Regions from separate parts of the Homo sapiens genome. Here regions 1, 2, 3, 4, 5 and 7 are each linked to region 6. Evidence: promoter capture Hi-C in 16 types of primary human blood cells and fetal thymus (Javierre and others, 2016). All regions are on one chromosome and are shown on one strand. The core of a region is centred on a gene start or on the middle of the fragment in contact, and the rest is flanking DNA. Distances in the headings are between cores, read along the strand shown. Region 1 overlaps PREP (prolyl endopeptidase). Region 2 overlaps LOC105377921 (a long non-coding RNA gene). Region 3 has its middle 19 kb from the start of PREP. Region 4 has its middle 37 kb from the start of PREP. Region 5 has its middle 92 kb from the start of PREP. Region 6 holds the start of ATG5 (autophagy related 5). Region 7 overlaps BEND3 (BEN domain containing 3).

Region 1 (3,012 bases), core at 77-2,576, 930 kb after region 6:
TTAAAGCACGTGCTACATTGGGGTAAAGGGTGCTGACGCTTCGGAGTAAAGGACATACTGTTTTAAATTAAGACTTCCAAGTGACACTGATGCATTCATTCATGGTTTCTTTGACCAGTGGCCATCTGGTAACCATGTTTTCTCAGTCTGCTCAGCTGCTTGCTTATTAAATTTACCCTAACAGCTCAAGAAGCTCTATTCCTGTGGTTTAAAGGTTGTTTCCTTTGAATATGGGAGTAAAGTGATCCTGCTGGAATGGAGAAAGAGGCTGGACTAAATGAAAAGACCAGAGCGCTAGTTCTGGTTCTGTCATTCACTAGTTAGGTGACTTTTAGCAGCTCTTTTACCTGTTATGGGCCTTTTTTCTCATATGAGAAATATTTGGACTGACCATAGGGCTTACTTGCTTCTGCAGTAGGAATGTTGTCATTCATTCATTCATTCATGTGACAGTCTAGCTCTGCAGTGTTCCAGACTAGTAATGGGAAGCCAGGTGACTCTCTTGGTTCTGGTTCTTGAGGATCAGAATATAAAGAATTACCCATTCTGTGGTTTGATAAGTGCAGTTTTAAGTTTGTTTTTAGAGTTACTTGTTAGTTTTTCACCACTGTGGGTGCCTAAATCCTACAGTTTGTTTATTTATGTTTGATATTTCATGAAAGGTTTAAGTGAGGATTTTATGAAGACGTCTAAAAGATTATAAACAACTCGGAAGGGTATACTGTGGATTTTAATACACTCCAGTTCCTTCTCATTAAGCAACTCATGCTAACTCTAAGCCTCGTGGCCAAGGGAATGTAGCTCTGGCCCAGTCTGGATCTTGTTGTGTGGCTCCTTGATAGCTTACGGTGGAGTATCTTTTTTTTTGCATTAAGGTTTTGGTTACTAAGCCCTAGGCTTGACTTAGGTATTTGCTTAAATGGTAGCCTTTGATTTCTAGGATGGGTTTGTTTCTCCCCAGCATCAGCTGGGCATTGCGGTAGCTCTCTGTCTCTTTCACTTGAGCACCTTCAGCCATATGCTCAGTACTCTCCTGCTGAAAGCTTTGGAGCGTTGAGACCATTTTGGTGGAGTTCTGCCTTTTTGGGCAGAAATTTGGAAGCCATGACACTTCTTGTGCAATACCATCGACCATTGCTTAAGAGAGTTGCTATCAGGAAATTCAGGCCTGTCACAGGGGACTCACACTCTGATAGAAGAGGATTTAGGGTGAGAGGAGAACACAGAAGAGGATGGGACTAATTTCCATCAGGAGGGGGAGGCATTATGTGAATTGAGTCTGGAAGTTGACCAGTTGGGTAAGGGACAAAGGACATTCCTGATCCTGTGACTAAAGTAAAGCCATAGCTATGCAGGCCTGGATTGTTGTGGAATTGCATTTGTTTGTAGGGTGGCAAGAAGGCGATTCTGACCAGACCATCAACAGATGGATAAATTTGCATGGGGCTGGAAAGATGAGCAGGGCAGGTTTGATGGGTCCTGCCTGCTGTGTGTACGAGTCTGCACTTTATCCTGAAGGCAGTGGGTGAGTTGTTGAACAGTACAAGTAAAATATCGAACAGGATTAAGTAGTACAGTACCTTATCAGGGCTCTATTTTTAAAGCTTCTTGAGGAGATCAAGAATGATTAGCAAACTTAAATCAGGTGGAAGAATTTGATTCAAGGGAAGTGGCTATAAGACACATCCACCTCATTTGTAGGGTATGGTCTTAGAAAAAATTGGAGGTGGAAAGTTGTGGCTCCTGGGATTAACTCTGGAATTGTCCTGGAGAGAATGTTTCTTGTCCTAGTTAAAAATATCTGATCAATAACTTCCATCTGCTGTAGATGATGGTGCCCGGTCTGGGCAGATAGGGCTGCTTGGTGTAAAATTCTAGATATGCCTGAATTTAGTAACATAATCCAGGAACATTTTTTAAGTGTCTATTCTGGCCCCTCTGATGAGTGTTTGGGGAAAAGGGTGGGCTGACTGCTTTAGTCCCAGGTCTGGTTCTGAACTTGATATGGTTCTGGGCATGTTACCCAGCCTTATCCCTGCTGTTGCTCCTAGAAGTGCATGATTGAAAGATGCTTTACAATTCAAAATTTTCTGATTTCTTAATGCTAGGAAAAGCAGATTGTTATTTTAAGCCTATTTTATAACCACTTCAAGGTGTGTAAAACGTAAAAGACTTGCAGATGAGAAGAAAAGATGAAAAGCTGTTGTTCGGTGGTGACAATCTGCTAAAATTTAGAGAGGTCAGAATTGAAAATTGGTAACTTTATGAAGACCCATCTGGAGAGGCTTTAGTCGGGTTTTATGTTCCTTGCTCTTGTTTTTACGTCCCTTGCTCAGTCAGTTGTTTAATGAAAATATATACAGAGTGTTCTGGCTTACCTGCCCATTTATCCAGTTGTGCATTTCCCCAGGAGTTCTTTGACCTGGCATCAGACAAGGACAGATGTGGAAAGCCCGGTGTTGTAAGGGCCAAGGAGATTGTTCTCACCCAGCCAGAGCCACACTGGAACTAGAGCAGCACTAGGTTTTCTTTAGGAAATAGCCCTTACCTTCTGGCATTGTAGAACAAAGCAAGGAGACAGATTAAAAAATTCATCTGAGATAGAGGTAGTCTTCCCAACAGCTTTATACAAGAAGCCTTAACTAGAATGTTGGAGTGGTTCAGAGACTTGATTGGCAAGACATTGTCAGTGTGGTTTCATTAATGGGGTTAATCTTTTTTTTTTTCTGAGATGAAGTCTTGCTCTGTTGCCCGGGCTGGAGTGCAATAGGCGTTGTCTCAGCTCACTGCAACCTCTGCCTCCTGGGTTCAGGAGACTCCCCTGCCTTAGCCTCCCGAGTAGCTGGGATTACAGCACCTGCCACCATGCCCGGCTAATTTTTAAATTTTGAGTAGAGACAGGATTTCAGCATGTTGGCCAGGCTGGTCTTGAACTCCTGACCTCAAGTGATCCGCCTGCCTCAGTCTCCCAAAGTGCTGGGATTATGGCTGTGAGCCACTGCACTCTGTCCT
Region 2 (2,783 bases), core at 155-2,654, 860 kb after region 6:
ACAGCAAAAACAAACAACTCTGAATTTGAGTCATGATAATTCCAGCCACTTAAACTTGGGTAAACTATTTAATTTCTCAAAGCTTCAGTTTCTTCTTCTATTGAGTGGTAATATTAATAACACCACTGTCACAGAGTTATTGCCACGGCTAAATAAAGTTACATGCGTGAAAATCCAGCTGTTCTTTCCTGGTGCTACCTTCAGTAGGAATATTTCTAAGGTCCCCAGTTGAGTAATAGTTCATTCATCCAACACTTATTTATTAGTCAAGTATCAACCACATGCCCAGCATATCGGGCATTGCAGCGTGAAAGTTAAAAAAAAAAAGAAGAAGGATATAGGGTCTCTGACCTCAAGAAGTTTGTAGTTTCATTGGAGAAACATACAAACTATAGATTAACTGGCATCAGAACAATTTTTGGCATAAATATGAATGGACAGAACATGAGGGGGTAGCCAAGGTGGAGTATGGCATATCAGAAAAGTTTCTTAGAGGGAGGAGAATTAGAGCCAAGTCTTAATAGTAAAAAAGGGTATGCAATAGATTACCAGAGGGACACTTGTAAGATGAAATGTCCTTCCTTGTCTGTCAAAACGTTTAGATACTTGGTCTTTCTAAGTGAAAATTTTAATATCAAATGACACTTCTGGCTTGTGATTTGAGTGACTATACTCTCCAAAGAGTCCGCTATTTGACTATCCGCGTCAAATTTAATTCTTACCTAAGCACCTGACAGTTTTCACTTTTCTGATCTAAAATTCTCTCCAAATTTTACTTTCTAAAAATGCCTTGCATGGATTACTCTAAATGAGTAAAGGGTAGATAGAGAAGTACAAAATATTGTTTTCAGATTTCCTCTAACAGCCCGTGGACTGTGAGGATGCCCATGGCATCCCTTCTGTCTAATTGGGTTCAGATACCATGAGGTTTGAACTAATAATAAAGTGACATCAGCTGGTCATAATTCAAAATCTGTCTAAAGAAATAATAATATATGATCAATATGCAGAAACGCTTGCTTAAGGAGCAGACATTAAGTGCATTTCTAAGAATTTGTAAAAATATCCTTGATTTGCCCCAAAATCCACACATTTATTGGAAAAAAGAAATTAGAAAATAGTAGTGGTTAAGAATATGGCTTTGATGTCAGGTGGACCTGATTAATCTCCCTAAGCCTCAGTTTCCTCATCTGTGAAATGGAGATAAGAATAGTTGTATCTCACAGAACTTAGTGAATACAAAGTGAGGGGATGTAAAAAGGATTCACGGTAGTGCTTGGCACACACTGTGGTAGGCATTTCATAAATGACTTACTTACGATAACTGTTCCTCAGCCCTAGATGGATGCTAGAATCACCTGGCAAGCTAAAAAAAAAAAACAAAAAAAACAATTCAGACCCACCACAGAGATTCTGATTTCATTGGTCTGGAAAGAAGCCCAGGCACTGGTAATTTTTATACACTCTTGAAGGGATGCCAGGGATGTTCCCCTGCCTTAGACTTTGGCATCATCAATACCTACAACTCCTCCATAATCTTTTTTTCCCCAAAGAAAAAAAACTATTCAATTTGATTATTTTAATTTTTTAATTACAAATAAAAATTGTATAGGTTTATAGTGTACAACATGATGTTTTTAAATACCTATACATTACAGAATGGCTAAATCAACCTAATTAACATATGCATTACCTCACATCCCTATCATTTGTGATGAGAACACTTAAAATCTCTCAGCACTTTTCAAGTATATATATAACACATTGTATTTAACTATAGTCACCATGTTATACAATACATCTCTTGAATTTATTCCTCCCGTCTAACAGAAATTGTGTACCCTTTGACCAAAATCTTCCCAGTCCTCCCCACCTCCCGGCCGCCTGCTCATGGCATGATCCAGTTTTAAGCATCCTACTTCCCATGTTCTTCCTAACTTTCCAGTTCACTCTCTCTCCTATCTCAATAAAAATCTTTTCAACTCCATGAGGACCCAGTGATTCCATCACCTTTACAATGACCCTCCCCCAACTTTTTAAAAGTGTCCCTTACTCAGCTTAAATTCCATGCTTCATCATGAAAATCACTCTCTTCATATTTTCTCAGCTCCTTTGCCCCCTTCTACTTTACCCACCTCATCTGAGGTGGTATCTGTTCTTCAAAGATAGCTCCCAATGAAACACACCTCCCAGTATTCATTCCCTTTTGTAGACCCCCTTTCATATTGAATCTGGTTGACCTGTGACTCACTTTAACCAATAGAGTGCAGTGGAAGTAACACTGTGCCCCATCCAGGACTGGCAGCTTCTGTATTTGCACTTCAGTGAACCGTAAGCTACCATGTAGAAATTCAGCTACCATGCTGGCAGGACCATGTAGAGACACTATATGAAGAGACCTTAATGGAGAAGAGATGTCGTCATCCCCAGTTCCTAGCTGAACCCAACCTTACATCTGTCTCTGCCAAGACACTAGCTCAGTTAAGCCCAGATGGTTGCAGCCCTAGCCGATACGATATGAGTCAAAAGAACAGCTTGGTCAGCCCCCATAACTGTGAGAAATAATACATTGCTATTGCTTTAAGCTATTAAGTTTTGAGGATCCTTGTAACATAGCAATAGACAAATGTGATAGAACTTGGTTCCTACAAGTGCAGTGCTGAGATAACAAAAACCTAAAATCAGTGACATTGACTTTGGGACCAGATAGAAGCTGGAAAAGCTTCAGGAAGACTATTAGTGAAGACAGTAAGGGCAGTGAAGAAATTGCTCTTGGAGGCTGG
Region 3 (2,877 bases), core at 204-2,703, 900 kb after region 6:
TCTTGATATAGGCTTGACAGGGGGCTGGCACTGTGGTGCTGTGGATCATGAGAAGCCCTTACCTCCCCATCTGCTGCCAGCCCACATAAATGGAGAAATAGCCCACCCTGTTCCAAGGTGGAGAGGACATAAAAACATTGCTTCCTTCCTTACCCACTGGAATTCAAATCATTAGGCTTCCACTTTTAAAAGTGTTGGTATATTATGAGAAATTTGTTTTGTCTCCATATGTGGGTTAGAGAAGGGGACAAGTGAACTATTTTTACTGTGAGTTTTTTCTTTGAGTTTATTGCCCAGTCTAAGCTGTAAAAAGAGGTCCTAGGGGGCATTCAGAATTGCTGTCCCTTAAGCCAGTAGATGGCAAGTGCTGAGAAACACTGCAACTGTAAGACACCAGTATAAACCCAGAAGCCTCACTCCACTAACTCTTGGAAAGAAATGTGTGCAGAAAGACATCCTGAAGACCTGAGTGACCGCTCAGTGAGGGGTCAAAGGAGCTTTCCTACTGGCAGGCTATGGAATACTTTGTCTATAAAAATGGAGATTTCCTTACATTACATGGCAGTTAGCATGCTTACTAGTGATCCACCTCAAGCTTTTACTACTGCAGAACCACCTGTGCCTTGCTTTCTTGCTGGTCCCTAAATAGCATGTCATGGCAGATTGTGAATGCTTTAAGTTCTGTGAGCAGTAATTACTCAGGACCTTCTCCAAGTCCCTCTTTTCTGTTTTACAGTTCACAATTCACAAAAGCTTTGATTTTCCAGGCCCCAAACTCTGGATCTCATACCCTAAATTTGGTGTCTGCCTTTGGAACTTTCAGATTTGGCAGGTTTCAAACCCTAACCAGGTTCTTGGATCTTGGTCCCATAGCATGGCTTTAAGTATTGTCTCCAACCTAAAGGGTGTCCTATTGCCTCCAAGGAGGGCCCCTCGTTCCCTCTGCCACATGTAACTGGCCAATGAGACCAGCCTCTGGTCCCCAAGACCTCCAAAGGGAACTTTGAATTGTCAGCAGCTCAGCGGGGTATCTAGAGAAAACATCCCCTCCATTATATGACAGATAAGTTGACAAAACAGGCCCACAGAGTAGTCTTAGACCACTTGTATCTCTGATACCAGGGTTATGCCAGAAAATTCAAGATCAATTAAACATGAATTTAAAACAATCCATGTCCACCATGACTTTCTGAGTGGACAGAAAATAAGAAATCAATAAATACTGTCTGAGGTTTAAACTTGTACTTAAGTAAGAACACACACATGCACACACATAAGAACATTCCATAAAGACTATAGCATTATGATTTTATATGTACTATTATTTATTAAACTGATGCTCCTAAAAAAGTAGAGGAAAATGCAGTTCTGTTTACTTTTCATAATATTACCTCCAAAGAGCTCTTTTGAGAACTAACATCTCTAGATTTTTTTTTTTTTTTTTTTTTGAGATGGAGTCTCACTCTGTTGCCAGGCTGGACTGCAGTGGTGCGATCTCAGCTCACTGCAACCTCCACTTCCCAGGTTCAAGCAATTCTCCTGCCTCAGCCTCCCAAGTAGCTGGGACTACAGGCATGCGCCATCACGACCAGCTAATTTTTGTATTTTTAGTGGAGACAGGTTTTCACCATGTTGGCCAGGATGGTCTCAATCTCTTGACCTCGTGATCTGCCCACCTCAGCTTCCCAAAGTGCTGGGATTACAGACATGAGCCACCACTCCTGGCCTAACATCTCTAGTTTTAAAGAAAAGTCTATCTGAAGTTTCAGCAATTCCATCAGTTTTACTTTTTCTTTTTCTTCTGTTAAAGTCAAGCAAATATCAATACAGATGTTCCTCAACTTACCATGAGGTTATCTCCTGATAAACCTGTCATAAGTCAAAAATATTGTAAGCCAAAAATGCATTTAATACCCAGATATACCCATTGTAAAGTCAAAAAATGATAAGTTAAACCATCATAAGTTGGAGACCATCTGTAGTTATTATTTAAAAATAGTGTGTATAATATAATCCATTGTGTACATACTCAACAATTTATTCAATCTACTATTGGTGGACATAAGTTTGGTTTCTAGTTTGGTGCTATTATGCACAAATGCTGCCATAAACATTCTTGTATGTATATCCTGGTGCACATGCCCATAAGCTTCTCTTAAAAATACCTGAGTGGGATTACTGATGTAACATATATGAATCTTCAACTTTACTAGGCAAAGCAAAACTGCTTTTCAATGTGGTTTTACCAATCTACATTCCTTCAAGAAGTGCATGAGAAGAATCTCTCTTGTTATACATCCTTCCCCTATACTTGGTATTTTCGGAATTATTGTATCTTTTTTTTTTTTTTTTTTTTTTTTTTTTGAGACGGAGTCTCGCTCTGTTGCCGAGGCTGGACTGCAGTGGTGCAATCTCCGCTCACTGCAAACTCCACCTCCCGGGTTCACGCCATTCTCCTGCCTCAGCCTCCCGAGTAGCTGGGACTACAGGTGCCTGCCACCATGCCTGGCTACTTTTTTGTATTTTTAGTAGAGACGGGGTTCACCGTGTTAGCCAGGATTGTCTCGATCTTCTGACCTCCTGATCTGCCCACCTCAGCCTCCCAAAGTGCTGGGATTACAGCTGTAGCCACCACGCCCGGCCCAGAATTATTGTTTCTAATCTAGTGGATCTGTAATGATACCACACTGTGGTTTAAATGTGCATTTCCCTGATTCCTAGTGAAATTAAGTACTTTTTCTTTTATTTTTTTAATTATACTTTAAGTTCTAGGGTACATGTGCACAACGTGCAGATTTGTTACATATGTATACATGTGCCATGTTGATGTGCTGCACCCATTAACTCGTTATTTACATTAGGTATATCTCCTAATGC
Region 4 (2,912 bases), core at 376-2,875, 890 kb after region 6:
CCAGCTTATGTTCTTTGCCTTTATTATGTGCACTTAAGGGCTTCTGCTCAGAAGGACCATTGGCCCACACTCCAAGGACTACTGAGAGCTTCTGTACAGAGCTCCGATGAGCTCTACCATGTCCATTTGCCATCTCCTTATTACAGCTAAAATGGGCTCCCAATAATTCCAGGCTTATCTTTTATTGGCTTTCCCTCTTTTCTAAGTATTGAACTTTCATTTCCAAAATGCCTCAGGACACCAGAACTCAAACTCTGACCTGATTTAAAAAAAACGAATACATTCAAACGTATTTTTAAAATTCAAGTCATGACTCAGCCTATACAGTTGAGTTGAGAATCTTCAGAAAGGAGTGGCCCTCTCCCTTCTCCCCACAAAAAAATAGGTTATTAGAGATATTTCAAGAAAGTTAAATTTAATTATAAAATTGTAGAATATAAATATACTTTAAAAATTCTAAAAGAACTTAATGATTTTTCCTCATTTATTCCTCTTCTGTATCAGAGAAACAATCAAATCACTTACATCAGTACGGGTGCAGTGGCTCAGGCCTGTAATTTCAGCACTGTGGGAGGCCAAGGAGGGTGGATCACTTGAGCTAAGGAGTTTGAGATCAGCCTGGACAACATGGTGAAACCCCATCTCTACAAAAAATACAAAAATTAGCTGGGCATGGTGGTGGGCACCTGTGGTCCCAGCTGCTCTGGAGACTGAGGCAGGAGAATTGCTTGAACCCAGGAGGTGGAGGTTTCAGTGAGCCAAGATTGTGCCACTGCACTCCAGACTGGGCAACGGACTGAGGCTCTGTCTCAAAAAAAAAAAAAAAAAAAAAAAAAATCACTTACATCAGAGGAAATTGCCTTGTTTTGATTTTAAGATTTTCATCCCATCAGAGGATACACCTCCACAAATTTTCTTGGCAATATATTCTGAAGTTTAACCGTTCTCCTGTCTAAAATCAATTCCTGGTCTAACCTAGTTTAAATCTATTTATTCCTTTATATTCATAGTAGAAATGTAGACAAATCTGGTTTTAAACTTTATCCAGAGGATGTATAGATACTTGAAGATGTTTATCACTGTTCATCTTTGCTAGGTTTGCCAGAATTTGGTACATATTTTGACAAAATTTGTGTTAACGGTAATGCACTGTAGTGTCTAATCTGGGCACAAATACTACATGTGTGAGTGCATGTCAGCAAGTGAGTGTGTGTGAGTGTGTGTGTGTGTGTTGTTGTTCTTTTAAAAACAGAAGAATCCCATCCATATGGAACATCTGGGAACCCTGTCAAATTCCTTTCTTTCCAAATCAAATAATCCCAGTCTCATTTAATTTTGTTTCAAAAAATTGTACTTATAAACCTCAAAATGAACCATTAAAGGAAGCAAGAATCACACTGGCACTCATGTAGATAGGCACCTAGGGCAATGATGTCGAGTCAAGCTTTCCTAGAAACAGGAAAAGAAATAAATAAGGTTTTTTTGTTTGTTTGTTTGTTTGTTTCTAGCATTAGAATTCTGTGGAACAGAACCAAGTATACCAACAGACATTTGAGTATCCAATAGATTTGTAGCACTGACACAGGATCTGTGGAACAGACAAGTAAAGAGTTTTGTGACCTGCTTGAAACATGCAAATAGAACTTATCTCAGGGGTGACAGTTCAGTCATTGACTGGGAATTTACTCAGGCTTCCCATTCACCCAGGACTTCAAATGTGAGCTTTTGGTGATTTTCCCCAAAGGGAGTCTCACAGATACATACGCATGATTGACAGAAGATATTTATCATTCAGTTATAAGCTTCTGTCCCATTACAGGCATCCTGCCTATAGTGCACTTTAAATTAAATACTTTTTATAAGTCATGTAATTATTTTATGAAAAGCCCAATTATATTGCATTAATTATGTACTTAAAGCATTAATTCATTAACAGTGAACATTTAAAATATATCACATTTTTTATAACCTCATTATAAAATTGGGAAGTAGCCTAGTGCCTCTCTCAACCTCTGGGAGACCCTATTTATATAAAATTCCATCTTGGCTTCTGAGCCTTTCAGTAAGAACCTGCAAGCTCCCATGTGTGGCGCTATGTCCGTGTCCTAAAAAAGCAGGATCTGGCTTTATTGGACTGACGCTTTGATGGCCTTTGATCAGGTCATTGTACCAGAGCAGCCAAGATATAAAGCAAGATGTGGCCTTTCAGTAACCTTCCTTTCTTGTGTGAGAGTAAGACAAGTTAATTGGGCTTGACAGTACAGATGACCCTTTCAAGTCAGGTAAAATGAGACTGTTGTGCTTATCACAGGTAGATAACCATTAATATCGCTTGTACTGTCTCTGGGAAGAGAAAGGGGCTTGTTTGTTTTAAATGTTTTTCAAGGAAGGCAACAAAGATTCCCGGGAAGGTTGCCTGGTCAGCTCCATCTAAGGAGACAATAGTGCCATTTGAAGGGTTCAAGACCCATTGAAAGGCAGAGAACACACTCCCATTGATAAATTATTATTATTGATAATCTCTTCTTTGTCCTTTATTTTGCATAATTGTCAAAGTTCAGACTGCGGGCCCTAGCAGATTATTTTAGACCTGTCTTTAGAAAGCTACCTCTGAAAAGGGAGTCTTTTTGTATCCTAATAACAACGAAATGTCCCAGGCAATCTAAGTTGATATTGTACTTTATTCAGCAATTTGTTTTGCTCACAATATATTATGGGACTGTTTTTTCCTTTGTATTAGTTCGATTCTCTTTATGATCAACAGCAGTGATCACACAAGTGTTCACTGAGGGAGAGGGCGGTCATAGGGGAAATCTCCCTCAGCAGAATATCATTCACTCTTCCACTAGGCAAAGTTCCCAGGGATGCAAGATGGCACCATTCTCTCCGCTTCCCTGCAGAAAACCAAAAAA
Region 5 (2,816 bases), core at 220-2,719, 830 kb after region 6:
TCTCAGTAGCCCGTTTGACTCTCCTCATAGTCTTTCTCACTCCCCAAAATTACTTTGCTTCTTTATTTAACCACTTACCCCAATGAGAGAGTGAGCATCATGAGAATGGGGAATAGTTCTTGCCATGTGTTATGTGGTCAGGCCCTGGCATACAGGAAGGCTCCAGTAAACATTTATTGTTGGTGAATGAATGAACCATAATATTCCAGTTTTCAATGAGGCAGGTAGGCTGTTAGAATCTGCAAAAGTGTTTTGGGACCTTGGGGTCTCAGTCATAGGGGTGGAGTTTAAGGGAAGGATTATATGAAGGGGATGCTGAGTTCAACGTGTGAGGTAAGGGGTCCCTAAGAGGGACGCAGAAAACAGAAATGAGGCACAGGCTCAGGTACCAGAACTGAGGGTGAAGATGGGCCTCAGAACCAAAGCAAGAGCTGAGGGGGGTGAACAGGCTAAATTGTCACAAAGGGACTTTCTCTACCACAAAGTGTCAGGCTATATACTATTTAAATCCCTCCTGCCCCAGATCCGGGCAAGACCTGACCACAGCAGTGAAGTGAGTAAGGGACATGCGTATCTCCTGATCTGGCCCCGTGGTGGAGGCAAACAACTCCACGGTGGTGGAAAGCAGAAATATTTGTGTAGAGAAGTGTGAAGATGAGCTATTCCCAGCAGAAAGGACAGCAAGGGCAAGGCAGGGAGGTGAGAGAATCACTGTGTTGGGAAACAGAATAAACAGAATGTATTGGGTGCAAGGCTGAGCACCTGCTGATGAAGAGCAAGGGAAAAGGGAAAGTGAGGCCAAATGGTGGAGGAACTTGATTTCCAAACCAAGATTTTGCCATTAAATTGAGGAAATAGAGAATCTTTGAATATTACTTTACTGCTTTGGTTGGCTTTAACCAGGGAAGTTATGTAGTCATTTTGGACACTTTAGCAAGCTTCCTTAAGGCAGGAGTCTTGTCTGTTTATTCAGTGATGTGTCTCCAACTTAGTGCCTGGCACACAAAAGAGCACAGGAAAAAAAACAAAAACAAAACAAAACAAAAACACTGTCAAAGGCATTGAATTTCAACTTTAATCTGGTGGCTATATTCAGGACAGCAAGCCTAAAGGTGGGCCAACTCATGGGAAATTTATTCCAAAATATGGTTTTAGAAATTTGATTTGTTGCAGCAGGAATCGGAAAGAACAGATTTGGCAAAGGGAATCAGCAGGACTTAATGACTAACTGCATGTTTGCTTGGGGCAGGGGTTGAGGCAGGAAACAGTGCGGGAAAGAGGGGAGTAAAAACTGATCCTGAGCTAGTTTAGAGTGTGGGTGACTGAATGACACCACTATGGAGACAGAGAAGTTGGAATGCAGAGCTGTTGAAGTGGGACTGGGAAGCTCAGTGTAGGTATTTGAGATGCGTGAAGGCTTAAGCAAGTAGGGATATTTAGAAGGCAGTCGAAATGAGACTGGAGTTCTGTAGAGGCCTAAAGGAAGGATGTATATTTGCATGTAAGTACTTCGATCATTTTCAGAGACAGATTGGGAATAAAACTAAATAGAATTGAGAATATCAACCGCATAGCTAGGATGCAGTGAAACCTAACTTACCTGGCCTGCCTCGTATTCAACAGTAGAATACTAGGTTCCATTTCTAAAATCGAACATGCTGAGTGGCTTCGCACCAAAACTCAATTCCTACTAGGCCTTCAGGACCTAATGTCCTTGAAGCTAGGCCACTCACTTTTTTTAGGAGGTGGTATTGCCAAGTAGTTAAGAGTATGGCAATAGAGTTAGAATACCGGGGTTCAAATCCTGACTCTGTCACTCACTAGCCAGATGACTTTAAACCAGTTACTTAACCTCCCTCTTTCTGTCTCTGTAAAATAGAAGTAATAGTCGTACCTACCCCTAGCAGACTGTTGTGAAGACCAAATGAATCAATGTATATAAAGCATGTAGCATAGTACTTGGTAATAGCCAATGCTCAACAATGGTCCTTGAAGCTTTGTACTGAGGACTGGAATATGTGCTCTTATTTTCATTTATGAATAGAGCGTGCTTTCCCTGAAAATCCCTGGGATATTGTAGAATATTTTCAGCAAAATAGAAAAAAAAAAACCATCAATGTTCATTCTACCAAAAGAGGTCACCTCCTTAGATTTAGATTAAAAAATATACCACTTAGGCATGCTGCCACTATAGTGAGTCTAGCAACTCAGGTGCACTAAATTCTCACAATTGAAAAAGCTCTGGGATAATTTCAGTGCTATTGTTTTGGAGACTTCCTTTTACCCTGCTTTGAATTTGTCACCGTTCCAATTTTAGACAGTAAATTATAAGTCTTTAAAAAGAGAGTTCCATTCAATCTTGAGAAAAGGGAAAATGAACCCCTGAACTGGATGTCAATTACCAGTCCCTGACTTGGGCAACGTCTGAACTCTTCAGGTTGGTAAATTCAACCATGGGGTGTTGTGTTTTTTTGTTTTGCTTTGTTTTGTTTTGTTGGCTTCTTTGTTTCATTTGCAAATTTTTTTTTTTTTAACAAGAAAGTTTGTTTCAAAAGAGCCTTTCTGTTGTATTCATAGTTGTCAGACCATGGCAAGCAGTGAGGCAGTGGAATTTATTTGAATTGCCACTCTTCCTTACTTTTTAAAAAATGCTCCCTTACAATAGTAACTCTTACAAGGATAATCTACCAGCAAACATCAGTAGGCCAGACATACTGGCAGTCCCCAGTCAATCTGTAACTGAAAACTAAAAGTATAGCAGGAAATCCTAATAATGAAACTTGCAGGATTAGAGAGCTGATGAAGCAGAAAACAAA
Region 6 (2,899 bases), core at 125-2,624:
GAGGCTAATAGCTGTTTACTGGGGACACTGTAGTGAGGATTTCTGCATTGAGTAGGTGAAGAGGACCATAACTGTGGCTTTCAAACTTTTCTGACTGCTACCCTTACTAAGAAATGTATTTCACATTCCTATCCAGTGTACACCACATACATACTGAAGTAAAAATTTTGGGACACAATATTTACCCTTTACATGTGTGAAGCATGCTGATATTTTCTATTTTATTTCATTTAAAAAGATGCTGGGCATGCTTCCCTAACTTGATTTAGATACCCACTAATGTACTGTAATTTACCATTTGAAAATCATTGTACTTAGTCCAACTCCAAGAAGATTTTTCTTTTTAAAAGAATCCTGTGGCTACTACTAGAATTTTCCTTATGTTCCCAATTATCAAGAACCTGTTTTGAGTCTCAGCACAGTACTTACTTAACATGCATGGCGTTAAGGCACGTGTAATTAAGAGAAAAACCTTAAATGCCTGCTAAGACTTCTGGATAGAGCCAATTCAAAGATTCTTTATTAGTAAGTTTACCAATTATTACTATTTTTTTTTTGAGACGGAGTCTCGCTCTTTCGCCCAGGCGGGACTGCGGTGGCCCTATCTTGGCTCACTGCAAGCTCCACCTCCCGGGTTCACGCCATTCTCCTGCCTCAGACTCTCCAGTAGCTGGGACTACAGAAGCCCGCCACCGCGCCCGGCTAATTTTTTTTGTATTTTTAGTAGAGACGGGGTTTCACCGTGTTAGCCATGATGGTCTCGATCTCCTGACCTCGTGATCCGCCCGCCTCGGCCTCCCAAGGTGCTGGGATTACAGGCGTGAGCCACCGCGCCCGGCCCCAATTATTTTTACAAAGAGTAAGATAAAGATATGTACTCTTGGATGGGTGGGAGGGTTCAGTGCTCATATAGTCTTCTGTTAAATTAGGTTATTAATGCCTGCGGTGGTTCCAACAAAGTAGAGAAGAAGATCAAATAAGAAAATGGATGGGAAAGTACTTTGAAAACTAATGTTTTATTAATACTGTTGTGTGATGCCAGGAAGAAAGGGATGTTGCGATCAAGCTCTAGGGAGGCAGTGTTTCAGTATTTTAAAAACTGTTTTTGTGGAACTGTTAAGTTAACCTCCCCAAGCCCCAATAACTACGCTTTGACGCAAGATTCTCAGAAGAGGGTAGAAGCTATGAACTTGGAGAGGTTTGGTCGCGAGTTCAAGCGTACTGCCCCGTTGGCGCATGCTCAAGAGCGACTCGGGCCTCCTTGCTGGGTTAGGCAGAACACGGAGGGCGGAGTTCGGACCACGTGGGGTCTCGTGACGTCATCTCCGGGCGCCGAGGGTGACTGGACTTGTGGTGCGCTGCCAGGGCTCCGCAGCGTTGCCGGTTGTATTCGCTGGATACCAGAGGGCGGAAGTGCAGCAGGGTTCAGCTCCGACCTCCGCGCCGGTGCTTTTTGCGGCTGCGCGGGCTTCCTGGAGTCCTGCTACCGCGTCCCCGCAGGACAGTGTGTCAGGCGGGCAGCTTGCCCCGCCGCCCCACCGGAGCGCGGAATCTGGGCGTCCCCACCAGTGCGGGGAGCCGGAAGGAGGAGCCATAGCTTGGAGTAGGGTACGTGTGTGTGTCCACCTTGTGTGAGGAAATTCCTAGAGGAGGAGGGCTGGGGAGGGGCCAGGTAGGTGTGGTAGGAAGGAGGGGTGAGTAGTTGCCTGGAGGAGCGCCCGCCCGGCCGCGATGGCGGGTGAAGGTGGTTCCTCCGGGCAAGGTGGAGTTGGCGAGACGCCGGCCCGGAGCCCTGGGGCCGGTTGGCGGGTGTGGCCTGCGGGGTCCCTCTTGGGGTACATGTCTGTTGCTTACTAAGGTAGGAAAGCGAGAGTCTAGTCGCAGGCTCTAGAGTTCAGTTCAGGACCTGAATTGTTTGTGGAACACAGTTATTTAAACCTTTATTGCACAGTGCAGTGTGAGTCTGTCCAAACTCGGTGGGTATGTCCTCCAAGCAATTTATCTATTTACGATATTCCCTGTCTCAATAACAATATTTAGTGCTACCAAAGACATTTTCTGTTGGCAAGACACTTTTACATACTTCATTTGTACTTTGGATTATTTTAAAATTATCCTGAACTTGAGGAACCTAGGAAACTATTGGTTCTAGATTTTTCTGAGGGGTGAGGAGGTACAGCCTGTCTTGAGCAATCAGAACCCGGAGACTTACCAGACAGTAGCTGAACTTCCAAAGCCTTCCAGAATTGGCTTGTTAAATTTCTGAGACCTTGAAACTGGATACTTGGCTCTGAACTGAACTATTTGTGATTTCCATAGAGGGAGTTTCTGGTTGAATTTTGAATTTGAAAATAACGATGTTGTGCTCAGGGTAGTAATTGAGAGGTATTTTACACCAGATTTAAGCCTGTGCTTTTATCTTCAAAGATATGCTACTTAAAATTGGGGGAAAGTGTACAGAATGGAACTGTATGGATATGGATTTTTAGAATAGTGCACACACCTCAAGTGTGTATTTATTTCATTAATTTCCCCCAAACTGAGTACCTCCTATGTGTTAGGCACTGGACAAAACAGTAAACAAAATAGTAAACAAAAGAATAAAAATCCCTGCCATCATGAAGTTCCACTTTGGGGATGGGGTGAGAAGACATTGATACAAAAATTAAGGTACAGTCTTTCCTGTCCCTCGGCATCTGTGGGAGATTGGTTCCAGGACCTCCCTTGGATACCAAAGTCCTCAAATGCTCAAGTCCCTGATATAAAATGGTGTAGTGTTTGCAGATAACCTATGCACATCCTCCTATCTTTAGTTCAACTCTGCATTATTTATAATGCGCAATACAACTTAAATGCTGTATAAATAGTTGTTATGGTGTATTGTTTAGGGAATAATGAC
Region 7 (2,747 bases), core at 27-2,526, 790 kb before region 6:
AAACATGCCACAGGGCAGCGTGGCATAGTGCCAGAAAGCTACGGTTGCAGGAAACTGAGGTAAGGAACTGAGTCCTTCAGGTAGCCAGGTATATAAACGGCTGGGATGGAGGACTTTCTCTTGTTACCCGCTCCCCACTTCCACCCTTGCAGTCCGTTTTTCTCTCTTTTTTTTTTAAACCATTCATCCCTAGATATTGGCTTTATACTACCATACAAGAGCCTGTCAAGCTTTCCTCGGTACTGGGACTTGGGCAAGATTTTTTATCTCCCTCACAGTTTCACATCCCCAGCCTCTAACCCGGTGTCTCATAACTTAGTAGGCGTTCAGTGCGTATTTCCTAAATGAATGGAGAGAGCCTCTTGGATTCTAGAGGAAAGATGGAGCCAGAGCGCCAGTTGCTGCTGCTGGGTTAGCTGGTGTCTGTGTGGCCCTTGAAATCTGTCACATCAACCTCCTGTCATGGAACATGAGTTTTTTTTTTGTTTTTTTTTTTTTTTTGAGACGGAGTCTCGCTCTGTCACCCGGGCTGGAGTGCAGTGGCTTGATCTCTGCTCACTGCAACGTCTGCCTCCCGGGTTCAAGCGATTTTCCTGCCTCAGCCTCACGGAGTAGCTGGGATTACAGTCCATGTGCCACCATGCCTTGCTAATGTTTGTATTTGTAGTAGAGACGGAGTTTCACCATGTTGCCCAGGCTGGTTTCCGGACCTCAGGTGATCTGCCTGCCTGGCCTCCCAAAGTGTTGGGATCACAGGCATGAGCCACCGTGCTTTTTTTTTTTAGACAGAGTCTCGCTCTATCACCAGGCTGTAGTGCAGTGGCGTGATCTCTTCTCGCTGCAACTTCCGCCTCCCAGGTTCAAGGGATTTTCCTGCCACAGCCTCCCGAGTAGCTGGGACTACAGGCGCGTGCCACCACTCCCGGCTAATTTTTTGTATTTTTAATAGAGACGGGCTTTCACCGTGTTAGCCAGGATGGTCTCAATCTCCTGACCTCATGATCCGCTCACCTTGGCCTCCCAAAATGTTGGGATTACAGGCGTGAGCCACCGCGCCCAGCCTTTCTTTTTTTTTTTTTTTTCTTGAGACAGAGTTTTGCTCTTGTTGCCCAGGCTGGATTGCAATGGTCTGATCTTGGCTCACCGCAACCTCTGCCTCCTGGGTTCAAGTGATTCTCCTGCCTCAGCCTCCCAAGTAACTGGGATTATAGGCGCGCGCCACCATGCCCGGCTAGTTTTGTATTTTTAGTAGAGAGGGGATTTCTGCATGTTGGTCAGGCTGGTCTCGAACTCCCGACCTCAGGTCATTCGCCAGCTTCGGCCTCCCAAAGTGCTGGGATTACAGACGTGTACCACCACGCCCAGCGTTTTTTTTTGTTGTTGTTGATACCAGAGATGCCATCTTCTTGCTGAAGAACTAATATAATGGGAAAGTTTTATGTGATTCCGCCTACCTTCTCCATGCCCAGCAAGACGATAGGCTGGTTAGGAACTGGCAGATGAGACAGTCAGCATCCCAACAATCTATTAACAGGTGCCATATTGACACATTTTCTTTACATCCTCTCCCTGTGGGTTCTTTCTTGGCTCCTAAGCACCCCTGTGTGAGCAGAAGCATAGCAGAATGTCCAATAATTACAAAGAGAAAAATTGGAGTGAGCCCTGACACAGGTTTGATTAGGTGAAAATGTAATATCCTATATTAATGTCTCACCTGCTACTTTTTAGCGCTGCCTAGAAAGTCCCTGGAAACAATGAGAAGGAAAACAGCATGTTTATATGAATTGTATTGACACCATGATGAAAAGTTTAAAGACCTCAAATTGTATAATGTAGAAGCATAGAGTATGAAGGTCGCTAGCCAACCAGCAAAAATGATTTGGTGTTTGTATATGGGAGGCTGGGATGTAGTGTTTTTTTCCTGGTGCTTAATTTTTTTTTTTTTTTTTTTTTTTTTGAAACGGAGTCTCACTCTGGTGCCCAGGCTGGAGTGCAGTGGCGCGATCTCGGCCCACTGCAACATCCATCTCCTGGGTTCAAGTGATTCTCCTGCCTCAGCCTCCCAAGTAACTGGGATTACAGGTGCGTGGCACCACACCCATCTAATTTTTGTATTTTTAGTAGAGATGGGGTTTCACCTTATTGGCCAGGTTGGTCTTGAACTCCTGACCTCAAGTGATCCACCGGCCTCAGCCTCCCAAAGTGTTAGGATTACAGGTGTAAGCCATCGCGCCTGGCCTGGTGCTTAATTTTGGTGTTAAGTGATAGGTTTTGGTTGCTAACCTAATTGTATTGTTCCCATCATTGGCTAAGGTAAGCTTGGGGAATTAATTGTAGAATTACTCTTTGGAATGGGAAACCTATTCTGTATCTTTTTAGGGGTGTTTATAGGGATGTGTATGTGTTATCTCTCTCTTTTTTTTTTTCTGAGATGCAGTCTCACTCTGTCACCCAGGCTAGAATGCAGTGGCACAATCTCGGCTCAGTGCATCCTACGCCTCCTGGGTTCAAGTGATTCTCCTGCCTCACCCTCCCGAGTAACTGGGATCACAGGCATGCACTACCATACCCGGCTAATTTTTGTATTTTTAGTAGAGACGGGGTTTCACCATGTTGGCCAGGCTGGTCTCAAACTCCTGACCTTAGGTGATCTGCCCACCTCGGCCTCCCGAAGTGCTGAGATTACAGGCGTGAGCCACCACGCCTAGCCTACATGTGTTATCTTTCATAGAATGATACACTCCTAG

Evidence for each region. The method cuts DNA at HindIII sites, captures the fragments that hold promoters and counts their contacts. A CHiCAGO score of 5 or more calls a contact.
Region 1: a fragment that was not itself captured here is called in contact with the fragment with the promoter of ATG5 in region 6 in 3 of 17 cell types (total CD4 T cells, activated CD4 T cells and non-activated CD4 T cells); the score reaches 6.0 in total CD4 T cells.
Region 2: a fragment that was not itself captured here is called in contact with the fragment with the promoter of ATG5 in region 6 in 1 of 17 cell types (endothelial precursors); the score reaches 5.3 in endothelial precursors.
Region 3: a contact is called between a fragment that was not itself captured here and the fragment with the promoter of ATG5 in region 6, in 4 of 17 cell types (fetal thymus, total CD4 T cells, naive CD4 T cells and 1 more). The highest score is 5.9, in fetal thymus.
Region 4: a fragment that was not itself captured here is called in contact with the fragment with the promoter of ATG5 in region 6 in 1 of 17 cell types (M2 macrophages); the score reaches 5.1 in M2 macrophages.
Region 5: a contact is called between a fragment that was not itself captured here and the fragment with the promoter of ATG5 in region 6, in 1 of 17 cell types (endothelial precursors). The highest score is 7.8, in endothelial precursors.
Region 7: a contact is called between a fragment that was not itself captured here and the fragment with the promoter of ATG5 in region 6, in 2 of 17 cell types (neutrophils and total B cells). The highest score is 6.7, in neutrophils.

What each region holds. Positions count from the first base shown.
Region 1 is chr6:105,398,824-105,401,835 of GRCh38, reverse strand. All of the region lies in intron 1 of PREP (prolyl endopeptidase), which reads left to right. Among named protein-coding and RNA genes, the nearest start is that of PREP, 2.8 kb to the left of the region's middle. The HindIII fragment of the contact is 561 bases long and covers 1,046-1,606 here.
Region 2 is chr6:105,466,257-105,469,039 of GRCh38, reverse strand. The region is part of intron 1 of LOC105377921 (a long non-coding RNA gene); the gene reads right to left. Among named protein-coding and RNA genes, the nearest start is that of PREP, 65 kb to the right of the region's middle. The HindIII fragment of the contact is 2,640 bases long and covers 85-2,724 here.
Region 3 is chr6:105,421,018-105,423,894 of GRCh38, reverse strand. No RefSeq gene overlaps it. Among named protein-coding and RNA genes, the nearest start is that of PREP, 19 kb to the right of the region's middle. The HindIII fragment of the contact is 1,396 bases long and covers 756-2,151 here.
Region 4 is chr6:105,438,997-105,441,908 of GRCh38, reverse strand. No RefSeq gene overlaps it. Among named protein-coding and RNA genes, the nearest start is that of PREP, 37 kb to the right of the region's middle. The HindIII fragment of the contact is 358 bases long and covers 1,447-1,804 here.
Region 5 is chr6:105,493,422-105,496,237 of GRCh38, reverse strand. No RefSeq gene overlaps it. Among named protein-coding and RNA genes, the nearest start is that of PREP, 92 kb to the right of the region's middle. RefSeq lists an enhancer at 593-662. The HindIII fragment of the contact is 1,057 bases long and covers 941-1,997 here.
Region 6 is chr6:106,324,235-106,327,133 of GRCh38, reverse strand. It overlaps ATG5 (autophagy related 5), which reads left to right and starts at 1,374. Exons shown (of 8, transcript NM_004849.4): 1 at 1,374-1,608. RefSeq lists enhancers at 1,175-1,494, 1,515-1,564. The HindIII fragment of the contact is 6,577 bases long and covers 1-2,899 here.
Region 7 is chr6:107,111,192-107,113,938 of GRCh38, reverse strand. The region is part of intron 1 of BEND3 (BEN domain containing 3); the gene reads left to right. Among named protein-coding and RNA genes, the nearest start is that of BEND3, 3.0 kb to the left of the region's middle. The HindIII fragment of the contact is 2,088 bases long and covers 233-2,320 here.